Regions from separate parts of the Homo sapiens genome. Here region 1 is linked to region 2. The links are contacts of gene promoters, found by promoter capture Hi-C in human tissues and cell types (Jung and others, 2019). All regions are on one chromosome and are shown on one strand. Each heading gives the region's core, a stretch centred on a gene start or on the middle of the fragment in contact. The rest is flanking DNA. Distances are from core to core; before and after follow the strand shown. Region 1 overlaps IQGAP1 (IQ motif containing GTPase activating protein 1). Region 2 holds the start of PRC1 (protein regulator of cytokinesis 1).

Region 1 (7,069 bases), core at 638-3,137, 510 kb after region 2:
TCTTTCTCCACCTAGTTTGTAGTTTTAGTTTTACCCATAAGAACCATTGCACCATGACTTAAAAGTTTCCAGACACCATTAGGAGAACCAATTCTATCTCTAAGACAGTGCTCTGAAGCACTGAATTCAAAACTAGATGTTAATTTACAAAAATTAAAAGCATTCTCCAATTCTTCTCTGATTACAAGGTAACATGTACTAAATGCATAATCATCATTATTTTTATGTTAACTACTATCTATTTCATAAGTGTTAACTACTATCTATTTCATATGAAAATTCTCTTCAAAGTAAATGGATCATCTTCTGGAATCCTGGGCACATCAAACACGTCTTCTACATATGGCAGTCCGGGGAAAGTGAGAGGTGGTTTTTAATCTTATTTTTCCCCTCAACAATAAAAATACATCCACAGACTCTCTTAAGCACTTGTGCCTTTCCCCTTACCTGAATTTCTGGTAGGACTGGGAAAGATATTCATTAATGATGCTTAAGTGGGCATTATCTCCCAGAAACATCTTATTGGAAGCAGCATGCTGAAGCATTTTTGCAATGGAGCCCAGATTTCGGCGTTGGTCTGTGGTAAGCTGGCCTCCTGCTGACAGGTCAATGATGTCAAAGGCATCAGGAGCAACAATGGCTGGATTCATGTATCGATAATAAAGCAAGTTACCAATAATCTGGAACAGACGAAACAGAAAGATGGGTATTAAAAGACATACCACCAAGGAAGCTATAAATGACTTTGCTAGCAAAGAAAAGCAGAAAATGCAGTCCTATGAGGAAAAAATAAATAAAAAATACATATACACACGCATGCATGCACATATACACACTCTCTCTCATGGCCTGGAACTAAATGAAATATCCCTTTGTTCAATACAGGAAAACAATGAGAACAGAACTGAAAACTACTGCCAGTAGTTAATGAAAGAGCAGATTCAGAAGGTAAAAATGACACACTTAAAGTCTGTTATTAAGTATTTCAGGGCATCTTTTGTTCACATATCATGGTAGCAAATAAGGCTGCTGTCACCCACATGCACTTTGTACTTTCATGTAGATGGGCTTTCCTTATAAAAAGCTAACAAACATAGCTAAATTCCTTAACATGACCCAATCAGCATAGAGTAACCCCACCTCCCAACATTCTCATGCTGCAGACTTCAAAGGCCAAGTTCATGCCTCTGAAATTAAATTCACTTAACACACATCTCTTCCACAGAAGAATTCAGGGGCAGTCACAGCATTTCCCCTAGAGTTTCATTCAGAAGAAATAAAATTAATTCACCTGAACAGAAAGTCTAGAATCGAGGCCTCACTGTAGGAAAGCACAGAACTAGGAGAGAGAAGAAAAAAGCATTCAGATTAAAAAAAAAAAGAAAAGAGAAGAGCATAGCTGAGTAAGAAAGAGTTATCAGCAACAGCCTTAGCAGAAACAACTGTGCCTGCTACTATTCGCCAGGTCACCAGCAGAGGGAACAATACTACAGCGAAAAGATAGGACTCAAAGAAACTCATCTGAAAACAGGAAAAATCCATCTTTCTACTTGTTTGATGTTTGTGTGCCAAACTATAGGAAGTGTTTCATCCTAAGAGAGGTACCATTTACCAATTACAATTGCTTTCAAAAGCTCACAATCAATGGTAAGCTACTGCCAGAACCTACACTTAGGCAGTTAGTAATGATCTATGGTCAGCCCTGGTTTTATTGCTTTGTCCTCAAAGGGCAGGAGTCTGCCGGCTATGAGATTCTTACCTTCAGCAGCTCATCCTCACCAGCATCAGGGAACTTCTCATGCAACGAGTCCTTCAGCACTTTGGCAATGAAGCGCATCCCATAACTGCGGGATGGACAAAACTTAGTGAGAAGGGCCAAGGAGCAGAAAGGCACTTAGTGCTGGGTTCTACTGGGGGTCATGACAACTGATGGCACTCACGGGATTTTGTCCACAGAGCTGACAATGGCTGAGAGAAACTTGTCTGTCACAGCCCGCATGTTCCTGATGGAGCTGTCTAGCCGTGTCTTCACTTCTTCATGAGCTAGCGCCTGCTCAGGGGTCACATCATAGGGCAGTTTGCTGGGAAGACAGAAATTATACCCAACTATGTTAGACTAACAGCCAGGAACAGCCTGAAGCAAGTGTCTTATCTTTCATAAACTATAAGACCCAGAAATATTAGATAGCTTAAGCTCATCCTCACGGGGCTGGTAAGTGATAAGTCTAGAATCTGAACGCAGGTTTTTAACTGTGAATCAGGTGCCTGAATTGTGTGCCAGGCACAATAACAGGCACTTGGGAATAAAAGTTATACAAGACATGACACCTTCTCTTCAGTCTTTTACAGTCTGGTGGGAGCGACACACAAACAGATGATTATAAACCTATTGTGCTGTAAATCAGTTCACCAAAAGTGCCACAGGACCATAGGGAAAGGGCTTCAACTCAGAATGGAAAAAGCAAGGAAAGCTTCCAAAACGAAGGGATGCTTGAACTCAGGAAAAAAGGAGAGGAAGAGTCTTCTAGGAAGGAAGGGGAGACAGGAGAAATGACAGTGGAAAAGCAGACAGGGAGCAGGCCATGACAGACCCCGTATATGATACTGACAAATCTGGACTTTGTTAGAAACCAGAAGGAGGTCTTCAAGGATAGGAGTGCTATGCCAGGCACAGCAGCACATGCTAGCATTCCCAGCTACTAGGAAGGCTGAGGTGGGAGGACTGCTTGAGCAAGACCTTGTCTTAAAAAAAAAAAAAAAAAAAAAAAAAAGAGGCAGAGAGAGCTTTGGTACACACAGAAGGGGAAGAGAAGGCAATGTGACCACAAAGGCAGAGGCTGGAACCACACAGCCACAAGTTGAGGGATGTCAACAGTCACCACAAGCTCTAAGAGTCAAGAAACAGAGTTTCCACTAGAGCCTCTGCAGGGAGCGTGGCTCTTCCAGCACCTCGACTTCATGATAATGGTTTCAAATTTCTGGCCTCCACAATTGTGAGACCATGACTTTCGGTTGTTTTAAGCCACCCAATTTGAGGTGATTTGTTATGGCAGCCTTAGAAAATACAAGTAGAGGCCGGGTGTGGTGGCTCACGCCTGTCATCCTAGCACTTTGGGAGGCCGAGGCGGGTGGATCACCTGAGGTCAGGAGTTTGAGACCAGCCTGGCCAACATGGAGAAACCCCATCTTTACTATAAATACAAAAATTAGCCAGGCGTGTGGCGCATGCCTGTAATCCCAGCTATTCGGGAGGCTGAGGCAGCAGAATCGCTTGAACCAGGGAGGCAGAGGTTGCAGTGAGCTGAGATTACACCATTGCACTCCAGCCTGACCAACAGAACGAGACTCTGTCTCAACCACAACAACAAAAAGAAAAATACAAGTAGATAGGGATACCCCTCTTCATTTGTCATAGCATGGCTAAATTAAAATTGGTAGACTATGAACACAAAAATTCTGCAAAAATCAACAGAAACATTCTATGAGAAATAAATAAATACATGGAACTTAACAATAAAGAATATTGTATATTTTATTATTTATATGAGTTTTAAAAGTAGTAACCAGCAAGGGAATCAATATGCTAAAAAACGTTGGTGATAGAACAGAACATTAACTTTGAGATTTTAGGAAAGAACATTCCCAAGAGGTGACAAGATTCCAGTTTGCTACGTGTATGGTGGCTGAAGTAAAAGAAGAAAGCTAAGGGACCTGTGATGCTTACCTGCAGGACAGATCCCCACCACACCACCATCCCTCACAGTCACTGGTATCTTAAAAAGAGTTCAAATCAATTTCCTTTTTTTTTTTTTTTTTTTTTAAGATATGGGGTCTACATTGCCCAGGCAGTGCTCAAACTCCTGGGCTCAAGCGATCTTCCTGTCTTGGCCTCCTGAGCAACTGGGACTACTGGTGCATGCCACCATGCCTGGCTCAATTTCCATTTTATGAAAGGCAAAATAAGACACCAGTTTCTTATAGGTACCCACAAGAAAACCAATCCTGAAATGTCCAGCGGGCTTTGGATCTGAAAATGACTGACTCATGGACCATCAGAGGAAATAACTGAGAAGCCCGGAGCCAGTGTACATGGGGCTATCGGCAAGGAATGCCCTGGGTTGCAGGCAAAACTTCCCAGACAAGTATTGCACTTGGCTGACCACATTCCTGGATGTGGGCCTCAGGTATGCAGGCAAAAAAATTAAAAAGACTTTTGCAATGATCTGAGTCCTGATAACAGACCTACATGGTACTGAGAACCAATCAGATGCCAAATGATTCCTAATAAGGAAACGCCCCTTCTTTCTTTTTTTGTCAACCAGGATGGAGTGCAGTGGCGCCATCAAGGCACACTGCAGCCTCAACCTCCCATGCTCAACCTATCCTCCTGCCTCAGCCTCTGGAATAGCTGGAACTACAGGTGTGCACAACCACACCCAGCTAATTTTTTTTTTTTTTTTTTTTAAGTAGGGACAAGGTATCCCTATGTTACCCAGGCTGGTCTCAAACTCCTGAGCTCAAGCAATCCTCCCACCTCAGCCTCCCAAAGAGCTGGGATTACAGTCGTGAGCTACCATGGCTGGTGAGATAAGCCCTTTCAAGGAGTCAGCAGAATGTTCCGTTCTCCACCCAGCGTAAAACTCCCTGTTTGCCTGGCATCCGGGTACATGGAAAGTAGAATGAAGAATAGTGTTATTCAAAGTGTGGACCAGTGCCAGTCTACAAACTGATCAAAGACAAGATAAAGACAATGAGTCAGAATGTAAATCAATACATTACTTCCTTCATTAAGAAAATCTTGCTATGAAAAAAAAAGTATCAGTTAAACTAAACAGTGTGCACAGATGATTTTCCATTACTGGTGTGCAAACCACACTTTGAATAGCAATGGTGTGGACAGCTGCTACTCCACCTATGCCCAGAGAGCTTCATGCATGATCTAACTCTACTCCACAACAAGAAAAAACCACAACAGACCATGCTGCTCACACCTCCATCTCCCACCCCTCTGGGTCCTCACCCAAGACAAATAAAACCAGAAACGTTTTGGCATTCTGAACTCCCTTTTCCCAGCATTACCAATATTTGATTGGCACACTTTTGCTTTAGATAAATGAATGTTGGTGGTTACGCTATGGCCCTAGCTCAGCTATCTCCTGTAATACGTTAATTTAATTAGCCCAACTCACGATATTTCAGGGAAGCTCACTCCACACCGTTTTCTTTTTCCTTTAATGAAACACAGTGATCTCACCCAATCTATATGAACCTTCTCATTCAACTGTATCCCTAGTTATGCCAGGGTCCATTTAAGTCCTACACCCTCCAGCTTAGAGTGTTCAGACATAAACACTCTGCACCTAGCTCTTAGTAAGGCTGGGTTCATCTTAGCTTTAGGGCCTCAGCTAAATGAAATTTTATCTTCCGGGATAGGCTTTCCCTAACCACCTTATGTTAGCTCCCTCTTATAAAGTCTCCATTAAAGAACCGTACATAAAACTTCATAAAACTTTCTTCAATGTTTAATTATGCTTTTATTTTTATGTACCTGGTTGGTGTCTCTTCCACCCAATGAACTATGAAGAGAGGGCAGGAAGCATGTCTGTTTCACTCATTATTGCATTACTGTACACATCTCTAACACAATGCCTGGCACATAGTTAATACTCAATAAATATTTGCTAAATAAGTGAATTTATTACTAGGTCAACAACTTAGAAAGCACAGTTTTCTAAAGAAAAACTATTTGAGGCTGGGTGTGGTGGCTCACAGCTGTAATCACAGCACTTTGGGAGGCCGAGGCAGATGGATTGCCTGAGGTCAGGAGTTCGAGACCAGTCTGGCCAACATGGTGAAACCCAGTCTTACTAAAAATACAAAAATCAGACAGGTGTGGTAGCGTGCAACTGTAATCCCAGCTACTCGGGAGGCTGGGGCATGAGAATTGCTTAGACCTGGGAGGTGGAGGCTGCAGTGAGCTGAGATTATGCCACTGTACTCCAGCCTGGACGACAAGAGTGAAACTCTGTCTAAAAAAAGAAAAGAAAAGAAAAACTATTTGAACTAATATTAGTTTATAAATAAAGAGAGGGGAAAAAAGAGGGAAAGACTATAACAACATGAAAGAAAAGTGTCATTATGGTTAACATACCTTGCCTCTCCTGTCTGAGACTCCATCTGATTAACCCAAGATTTGTAAATATCCACAGGGTCAGTTTTGATGTTGAGAGATTTGTCATCCATAATTTCCTTCACGACTGGGGCCAAGATCTGTCTCAGGGCATTCTGGCCACGGGCACCACGGTTGAAACTTACAACCATTTTAATAACCGTAGGATTTCCTGTCACAATCTCTTGAATCTGATCTACCTTCGACCTATAAAACATCAGATAAAAATTTAAACTTGTCACAAAACCCATCAACTTAAAAGATCCTTCCTGCTTAAAGATCCTATCTCCCTGAAACAGTTTCTCTCGAAACATTCCCCAGCACTCACAGAATGTTCCTGCAGCTGCACGCTCAATCGTGGTCATGATTGGGTCCGCTACTAGATAAAAATGTGAATTCTTTCTGTTCAGATTACTTTTTGAAATTATACCTTAATACAGAATGTTCCTAAAGTTAATTTATCCCTTCCCTAGAAGCAGCAAGATTTTATATCAGTTATTTAAAAATTAGATGCTTCTTTAGAGTAAGTATTTTTCATAAATTAATTGAGATCAAGAAAAGATCAGGAAGGCATGAATCTCAAACTGGGAGCCCCTCTGATAGTGGGAAGGGGCCTGTGCCCTGAGGAAATCTGTTCATACTTGATTTCCTCTTGGAGTGCTGTCTTAAAGAGCCGCAGGAGCAGGTACTCCTCTCGCTGGTTGGACGCGTAGTTGTAGAGTGTGAAGATTACAGAGTCCATGAACTTGGTGGACTTGTTCTGGGGCATCTGAAAAATGAGCTTGGCCAGATAGGTGGGATTGGTCTGAAATAAAACCAAGGGATAAGTCATTTGTAGGTAATATAAAGGCTGGCAAGATATATTCAATTATTTAAAATTGAAGGACTACAATACATATG
Region 2 (7,013 bases), core at 216-2,715:
AAAAATACAAAAAAAAAAAGTATCCAGGCATGGTGGTGCGTGCCTGTAGTCCCAGCTACTCGGGAAGCTGAGGCACAAGAATTGCTTGAACCCAGGTAGCGGAGGTTGCAGTGAGCTGAGATTGGGCCACTGCACTACAGCCTGGGTGACAGAGCGAGACTCCGTCTCAATTAAAAAAAGTAAAAAGAACATTGAAAGCACTAATGAAGTTTTTCTGAAAATAAGAAAAATATGGTTCTGAAGGTGAAGCAAACAAGCATCCTTTACCTTTAGGGAAAAGGCATATGAAGAGGATTCACTTAAGTTACAGTTGGCCAATAAACACGAAAAATGTGCAATTTCAATTATAATCAAGTGCCAAACAAGGAAATGCCAGTATTATTATTTTACCTACAAAATGAGCAAAGATGTTTAGAAGTACAATAGAATTCAGCCCTGCTGAGGGTAACAAAAGGAGGGTACTTTTCCGGTGAGGCTTTGTGCAGAAGGCAAATTAATAAAGGGAGCATTCAGTAATTACACCTCTAGGAATCAGCCGTACGAAAATGCAGGATGCATTTATAAATACATACATACACAAAGATTTATGTATGAAGATATTCAGCCCAGCCTTATCTTTTAAATTATCATCTAAATATCAATAGCAGAATGGGCGAGATATCTACACACCAGGATTCATGCCACCATGCCACCATGAATCACTGGGAAAAAACGGTGATATATAAGCATTTAGGGATGTAACATGTTCATCGAGGAAAGGAGGCTACAAAAGTAATGTCTATTTTGAGTTTTAAATTTTTCATGTAACGATTTAGAAACTCATCTAATTTGATAACGTGACTTAGGCAAATCATTCAAATCTTTTTGCGTTTCCTCTGCAATGGCGATTGTGGAGGTTAAATGGGATAACTGGCGTTGAAACGTTCCAGGCCCATGAGCAGGACTCAATGTTCCTTCCCTTCCCCTTTAGTGTATGGCTTCTTACATCTGGGGAAGAGTCCCACCAAAGATCGATTCCAAGCTTCGCTTCTTGGATGAGCGAGGGAAACTAGGCGCTAACTTACCTATTCACCCCCGCGCCCGTTCCCGGCAGCCGGGACTCAGGGAAGCCAGGTAGCCGCGGTGCTCTCAACTCCCTCCCCGCCCGCGCACTTCGAATCCAAACTGCGCGGGGCGAGGCGGGGCGGCGCTCCGATGAGGTAGCTGGCTTGGGAGAGGAGTCCCTTGAGGCTGCCGCCAAGCCAGGGAAGCGGGAGGCGCAGGCCACGCCCGGCCACTCACAGACAGTGACGTCATCCCCCGCCGCCACTCCGGCGCTTCCCAGGCCCTGCTCGCGAGTCCCCACCCCGATTGCGCACCCGCGACTTCAGCCCGAGGGGCGGGGATTTTCTTGGAGCGACGGGACGCGACGCCAATCGCGACGAGGCTTCGCCCCGTGGCGCGGTTTGAAATTTTGCGGGGCTCAACGGCTCGCGGAGCGGCTACGCGGAGTGACATCGCCGGTGTTTGCGGGTGGTTGTTGCTCTCGGGGCCGTGTGGAGTAGGTCTGGACCTGGACTCACGGCTGCTTGGAGCGTCCGCCATGAGGAGAAGGTGCGGGTTGCGGGGAAATCGAGGGGACGCGGGAGGGAGCGACGCTCGTTTCGGCTGCGGGGCCTGTTCAGGGGTGCGGGACCCGTGCGGGGTCCCGGGCCTAGATCGTCACGGCAGTCGGCGCCGAGGGAGGCCGGGGGCGCTGAGGGGCAGGGTCTGGAGGCGGCGAGCCAGTGCGAGGGCCGCGGCGGTGAGACCTGACGCGCTGTCCGCCGGCGGCCGCAGGTGCCCGCAGGCTCAGACGCCCGGGTGGGAGCCGAGCGCCGGTGCCCGGACGCGGCAGGGTAGTCGAGGCCCGGGGCCCGGGGCGGCCTCCACCCAGGCGGTCAGCGCTGGCGCTCGGACCCCACCCTCCCCGCCCGCAGCGTCTCAGGTGCCGCTGCTTGGCGCAGATGACTCGTTGTAAACCTTCTGTGGTCGTGGCTTTTCTTTAAAGCTGTTAAGTTTATTTATCGTTGTTTTTCTTTGTTTTATTCTTTTTTTTTATTTTTGTGGAAACGCGGTCTATGTTGGCCAGGCTGGTCTCGAACTCCTGGCTTCAAGTAATCCTGCCACCTCGGCCTCCCAAAGTGTTGGGATTACAGGCGTGAGCCACCGTGCCCGGCCCGTTGTTTTTCTTTATATCTGGCCAGCGGTGTTAACGTTTTGTTTGAATTGGAAAGATAGCTTTGTTTCTTTGCAAGTTAAGAAACGGATTATGGAATTCTTTTCCGGTCGTTTTAATAACTTCCTAGGCGGTGTTGGGGAGGGACTGTCCGACTTGAAATCGGGACCAGACGGTGACACTGCCACTTACCAACCTTGTGACTTCCAAATATTAACTTTATTTTCTAAAAGTTGTGGATGCAGTTTTCTGATGATACAGCGTTAAATAATGTGTAGTTTTTGGTGGAACTGATTGTTCTAAGGCTTTGTAAGATTCTTCATTTCATGATCACTAATTCTGATCAGTCTTTTTAAAATGCTTGCCCTCAGAATAATGAGAATTGAGTGCCAACATGGTAAAACCTTGTCTTAACTAAAAATACAAAAATTATCTGGCCCTGGTGGCGCGCCTGTACCCCCAGCTTTTCAGGAGGCTGAGGCAGGAGAATCGCTTCAGCCTAGGAGGCAGAGGTTGCATGAGCCGACATCTCGACACTGCACTCCAGCCTAGGCGACAGAGTGAGACTACGTCTCAAAAAAAAAAAAAAAAGTCCATTAACAGTTTATGAATTATGTAGGCATCTCCTCTATCAAGGGATTGAATGAAGCAGGAGAAAACTTACCCTTTAATGTTGGTTCCAGGCTAATGGATATAATTAACTTTTTTTTTTTTTTTTTTTTTTTTTTTTTTGAGACGGGGTCTCACTCTGTCGCCCAGGCTGGAGTGTAGTGGCGAGATTGCTCACTGCAGCTTTGACCTCTGAGGCTCAAACGAAACTCTGGCCAGAATTAATTATGGTTATCGATCCCCGAAACAGGTTGAACTGGAGATCAACAAAGCTCCTTCTCTGGAATGCTAAGAAAAAATAGGGCAGTGGATCAGTGAAGGCTGCCTGAAGGTAGAAAATAATTTAAGGACCACTGTGAGATACCTTCCAGTCCAGTGATTTATGTTCAAGACTGGAAAAACTGACTCATTTTACAACCTTTTTGTCCTTGAGTGGTAGTCTTTGTATGCACTCTTGATTTTTTTCAGTGAATCTAAAAAAAAAACTCAGACTTGCTGCTTTTAGGGGATTATCTGAAACAATTTAGCCAGGGAGTATTTAAGTGTATCATGATAATTGTTCATAATGATTGCTCTGAAGCATCTTAAGATCATACAACTTTTTTGAAATGTCACGTTATTCATTCAAAAAGACTTCTTGGGCCTGGCACAGTGGCTCACACCTGTAATCCCAGCACTTTGGGAGGCCAAGGTGGGAGGATGACTTGAGCCCAGGAGTTCAAGACCAGCCTGGGCAACATAGCAAGACCCTGTCTCTATTTAAAAAATAATAATTTATACTAAAAAAGAAAAGAAAAATACTTCTTGAATGTTTGTTATATACAAGGAACCATTGCAAGTGTTGGGGATATAGCAGTGAGCAAAAGTGACATCCCTGCCCTCACAGAGTTTATATTCTAATAGCAAAAGAGGAGTGTAATAAATAAGTTAGTCTTAAATGGTGGTAAGTGCTATGTAGAGAAATCAAGAGGTTAAGAAGTACTGAAGGTGTAGGAAGGGGGGTTGTGGTTTTAAAGAGATGGGTCAGGAAAGGCCTCCCTGAGAAGGTGATCTCTGAGCAAAGACCTAAGAAGGAAAAGGGTGAAGCCATGCAGCATGGGGGAAAAGAGATCTAGGTAGAGGAATCAGCAAATCCAAGTGCCCTAAGGGGAGATAGCGCCTGGTATGTTCCAGAAAGAGCAAGGAGGTCGCTGTGACAGGAATAGAATGAGCACTGAGGTCAAAAGAAATGGCTTTCAGATGGAATGGGGCTCCATAGGTCTTTGGAAAGTCAGAGGCTTTTCCTTAGAGTGAGATGGCAAGTCGTTGGAGGGTTCTGAGTAGAAGATTAGGACTTGGGGCTCCTGTGTTGACAATGGACTTAAGGAGGCCAGCTTCGAAGCCGGGAGACCAGTTAAGAGGCCCCTGCCATACAGCAAGAAGTTGGTGGTGGTGACCTGGACCAGGGTGGGGGTGGTAGTGGTAGCAGCAGAGGTCAGGAGGAGTGAGATTCTGCCTGTCTTGTGTAGATAATGCTAATGGCGGGCATATAAGAAAGAAGTGTCAAGGATGATACAAGATTTAAGTTTAAAAAAAAAATTAAGTTCAGTACAATTTGAATGTTAGGAAGAGTGAGAAATGTTAGTTTTTAATTTGAAAATGATCCTCTTACAGGAAGTGTCTCTAACTAGAATAATAATAATGGGTGTTTGGTAATTCCAAACACCCATTTCCAACAGGCCAAATAAAATACGTTATATATTAGTAAAATTTTTATTTCTTTTTTTTTTTGGAGACAGTCTTGCTCTGTTGCCCAGGCTGGAGTGCAATGGCATGATCTCAGCTCACTGCAACCTCCGCCTCCTGGGTTCACCGGGTTCAAGTGATTCTCCTGCCTCAGCCTCCTGAGTATCTGGGATTACAGGCACCCACTACCACGCCCAGCTAATTTTTGTATTTCTAGTAGAGATGGGGTTTCACCATGTTGGCCAGGCTGGTCTCGAGCTCCTGATCTCAGGTGATCCGCCCGCCTTGGCCTCCCAAAGTGCTGGGATTGCACACGAGCCACCGCGCCCGGCCATAGTAAAAATCTGTAAGTTTTTCAATTAAGTCACAAATCAAAAACATTTCAGATTATGGGCCGGGCACAGTGGCTCACGCCTGTAATCCCAGCACTTTGGGAGGCCGAGGCGGTCGGATCACGAGGTCAGGAGTTTGAGACCAGCCTGACCAACATGGTGAAACCCCGTCTCTACTAAAAATACAAAAATTAGCCGGGCGTGGTGCCGTGTGCCTGTAGTCCCAGCTACTCAGGAGGCTGAGGCAGGAGAATCGCTTGATCCCAGAAGGCAGAGGTTGCAGTGAGCTGAGATCACACCATTGCACTCCGGCCTGGGTGCCAGACTGAGACTCTGTCTCAAAAAAAGAAAAAAAAAAGAAACCAAAAATGTTTTAGATTATGTGCCAAGATGTTTTTAATAACAGCTTTGAGGTATAATCCACATACCATACAATGTACTTAAATTGTATATTATAATTCAGTGATTTTTAGAATATTCAGAGTTGTGCAATCATCACTGCAATCAATTTTAGAACATTTTTATCACCCCTTTAAAATCCCATTAGCAGTCAATCCCCTTTCACCCCATGGTCCAAATTCTCCCCAGCCGCAACTACAAATCTACTTTTCGGCTAGGCAAGGTGGCGCACACCTATAATTCCAGCACTTTGGGAGCCCAAGGTGGGAGGACTACTTGAGCCCAGGAGTTCAAGAACAGCTTGGGCAACATAGAGAGACTCTACCTCTTAAAAAAAAAAAAAAAATTATTTATTTATTTATTTATTTATTTTATTTTTTATTTTATTTTATTTTATTTTTTGAGATGGAGTCTCACTCTGTCACCCAGGCTGGAGTGCAGTGACGTGATCTCAGGTCACTGCAACCTCCACCTCCCGGATTCAAGCAATTCTCCTGCCTCAGCCTCCCGAGTAGCTGAGATTACAGGTGCCCACCACCACACCCAGCTAATTTTTGTATTTTTAGTAGAGACGGGGTTTCACCATATTGGCCAGGCTGGTCTCAAACTCCTGACCTCGTGATCCGCCGGTCTTGGCACCCAAAGTGCTGGGATTACAGGAGTGATCCACCGCACCCGGCCTAAAAAAAAATTTTATTGTTTAAGTTAGCTGGGTGTGGTGGCTCACATCTGTAGTCCCAGCTACTCCGGAGGCTCAGGTGGGAGGATCACCTGAGCCTAGGAAGTTGGGGCTGCAGTGAGCCATGATCATGTTACTGCACTCCAGCCTAGGTGAAAGAGGGAGACCCTGTCTCAAAAAACCATACAAACCCCAAATCTACTTTTTACCTATTCTGGATATTTCATAAAAACGGAACCGTAGCTCTGGTCTTTTGTGACTTGCTTCTTTGACTTAACATAATGTTTTCAAGGTTTATTGCCAAATAATATTCCATTGTATGCCTATATACTACATTTTATTTACCCATTCATAAGTTGATGGCCATTTGTATTTTTTTTTTCACTTTTTGGCTATTATAAGTAATGCTGCTATAAACAGTTGTGTAGTTTTTGTATAAATGTGTTTTCATTTCTTTTGGGCAAATACCCAGTAATAAAATTGCTGAGTTGTATGAACTCTGTTAAACTGAGGGGCCGGGTGCAGTGGCTCATGTCTGTTATCCCAACACTTTGGGAGGCCGAGGTGGGAGGATTGCTTGGGCCCAGGAGTTCAAGACCAGCCTGAGCAACATGGCAAACCTTAAAAAAAAAAAAAAAAAAAAAAATTAGCCAAGCACGATGGCACGTCTATGGTCCCAGCTACTTGGGAGACTAAGGTAGGAGAATTGCTTGAGCCCAGGGCGTTGAGGCTGCGTTGAGCTATGATCACACCACTGCACTCCAGCCCAGGTGACAGTGAGGCCCTGTCTCAAAAAACAAAAAATCAATTGAGGAACTACCAGACTATTTTCCAAAGAGGCTGTACCGTCTTGCATGCCCACAAGCAGTGTCTGAGGGTTCTAGTTCCTCTAGATTCTCACCAATACTTTTTGCTATATATTTTTTTTTATTATACCATCCTGTTGGCTATGAAGTGGTTTTGATTTGCATTTCCCTAATGACTAATATTGAGCATCTTTTCATGTGCTTATTGGCCATTTTTATATCTTCTTTGGAGAAATGTCTATTCAGATTCTTTGCCCATTGTGCTA

Evidence for each region. Contacts are between HindIII fragments. The study calls those that stand out against the background at their distance.
Region 1: a contact is called between a fragment that was not itself captured here and the fragment with the promoter of PRC1 in region 2, in 1 of the 25 tissues and cell types used here (spleen).

What each region holds. Positions count from the first base shown.
Region 1 is chr15:90,476,972-90,484,040 of GRCh38, reverse strand. It overlaps IQGAP1 (IQ motif containing GTPase activating protein 1), which reads right to left. Exons shown (of 38, transcript NM_003870.4): 25 at 6,811-6,974; 26 at 6,152-6,376; 27 at 1,941-2,081; 28 at 1,760-1,844; 29 at 448-680. Among named protein-coding and RNA genes, the nearest start is that of CRTC3, 49 kb to the left of the region's middle. The HindIII fragment of the contact is 5,949 bases long and covers 1-4,861 here.
Region 2 is chr15:90,988,987-90,995,999 of GRCh38, reverse strand. PRC1 (protein regulator of cytokinesis 1) reads left to right here and starts at 1,465. Exons shown (of 15, transcript NM_003981.4): 1 at 1,465-1,593. The coding sequence starts at 1,583. LOC124903556 (a long non-coding RNA gene) reads right to left here and starts at 1,221. Exons shown (of 2, transcript XR_007064759.1): 1 at 1,065-1,221. RefSeq lists enhancers at 425-1,291, 1,292-2,159 and a silencer at 1,709-1,928. The HindIII fragment of the contact is 8,571 bases long and covers 1-4,770 here.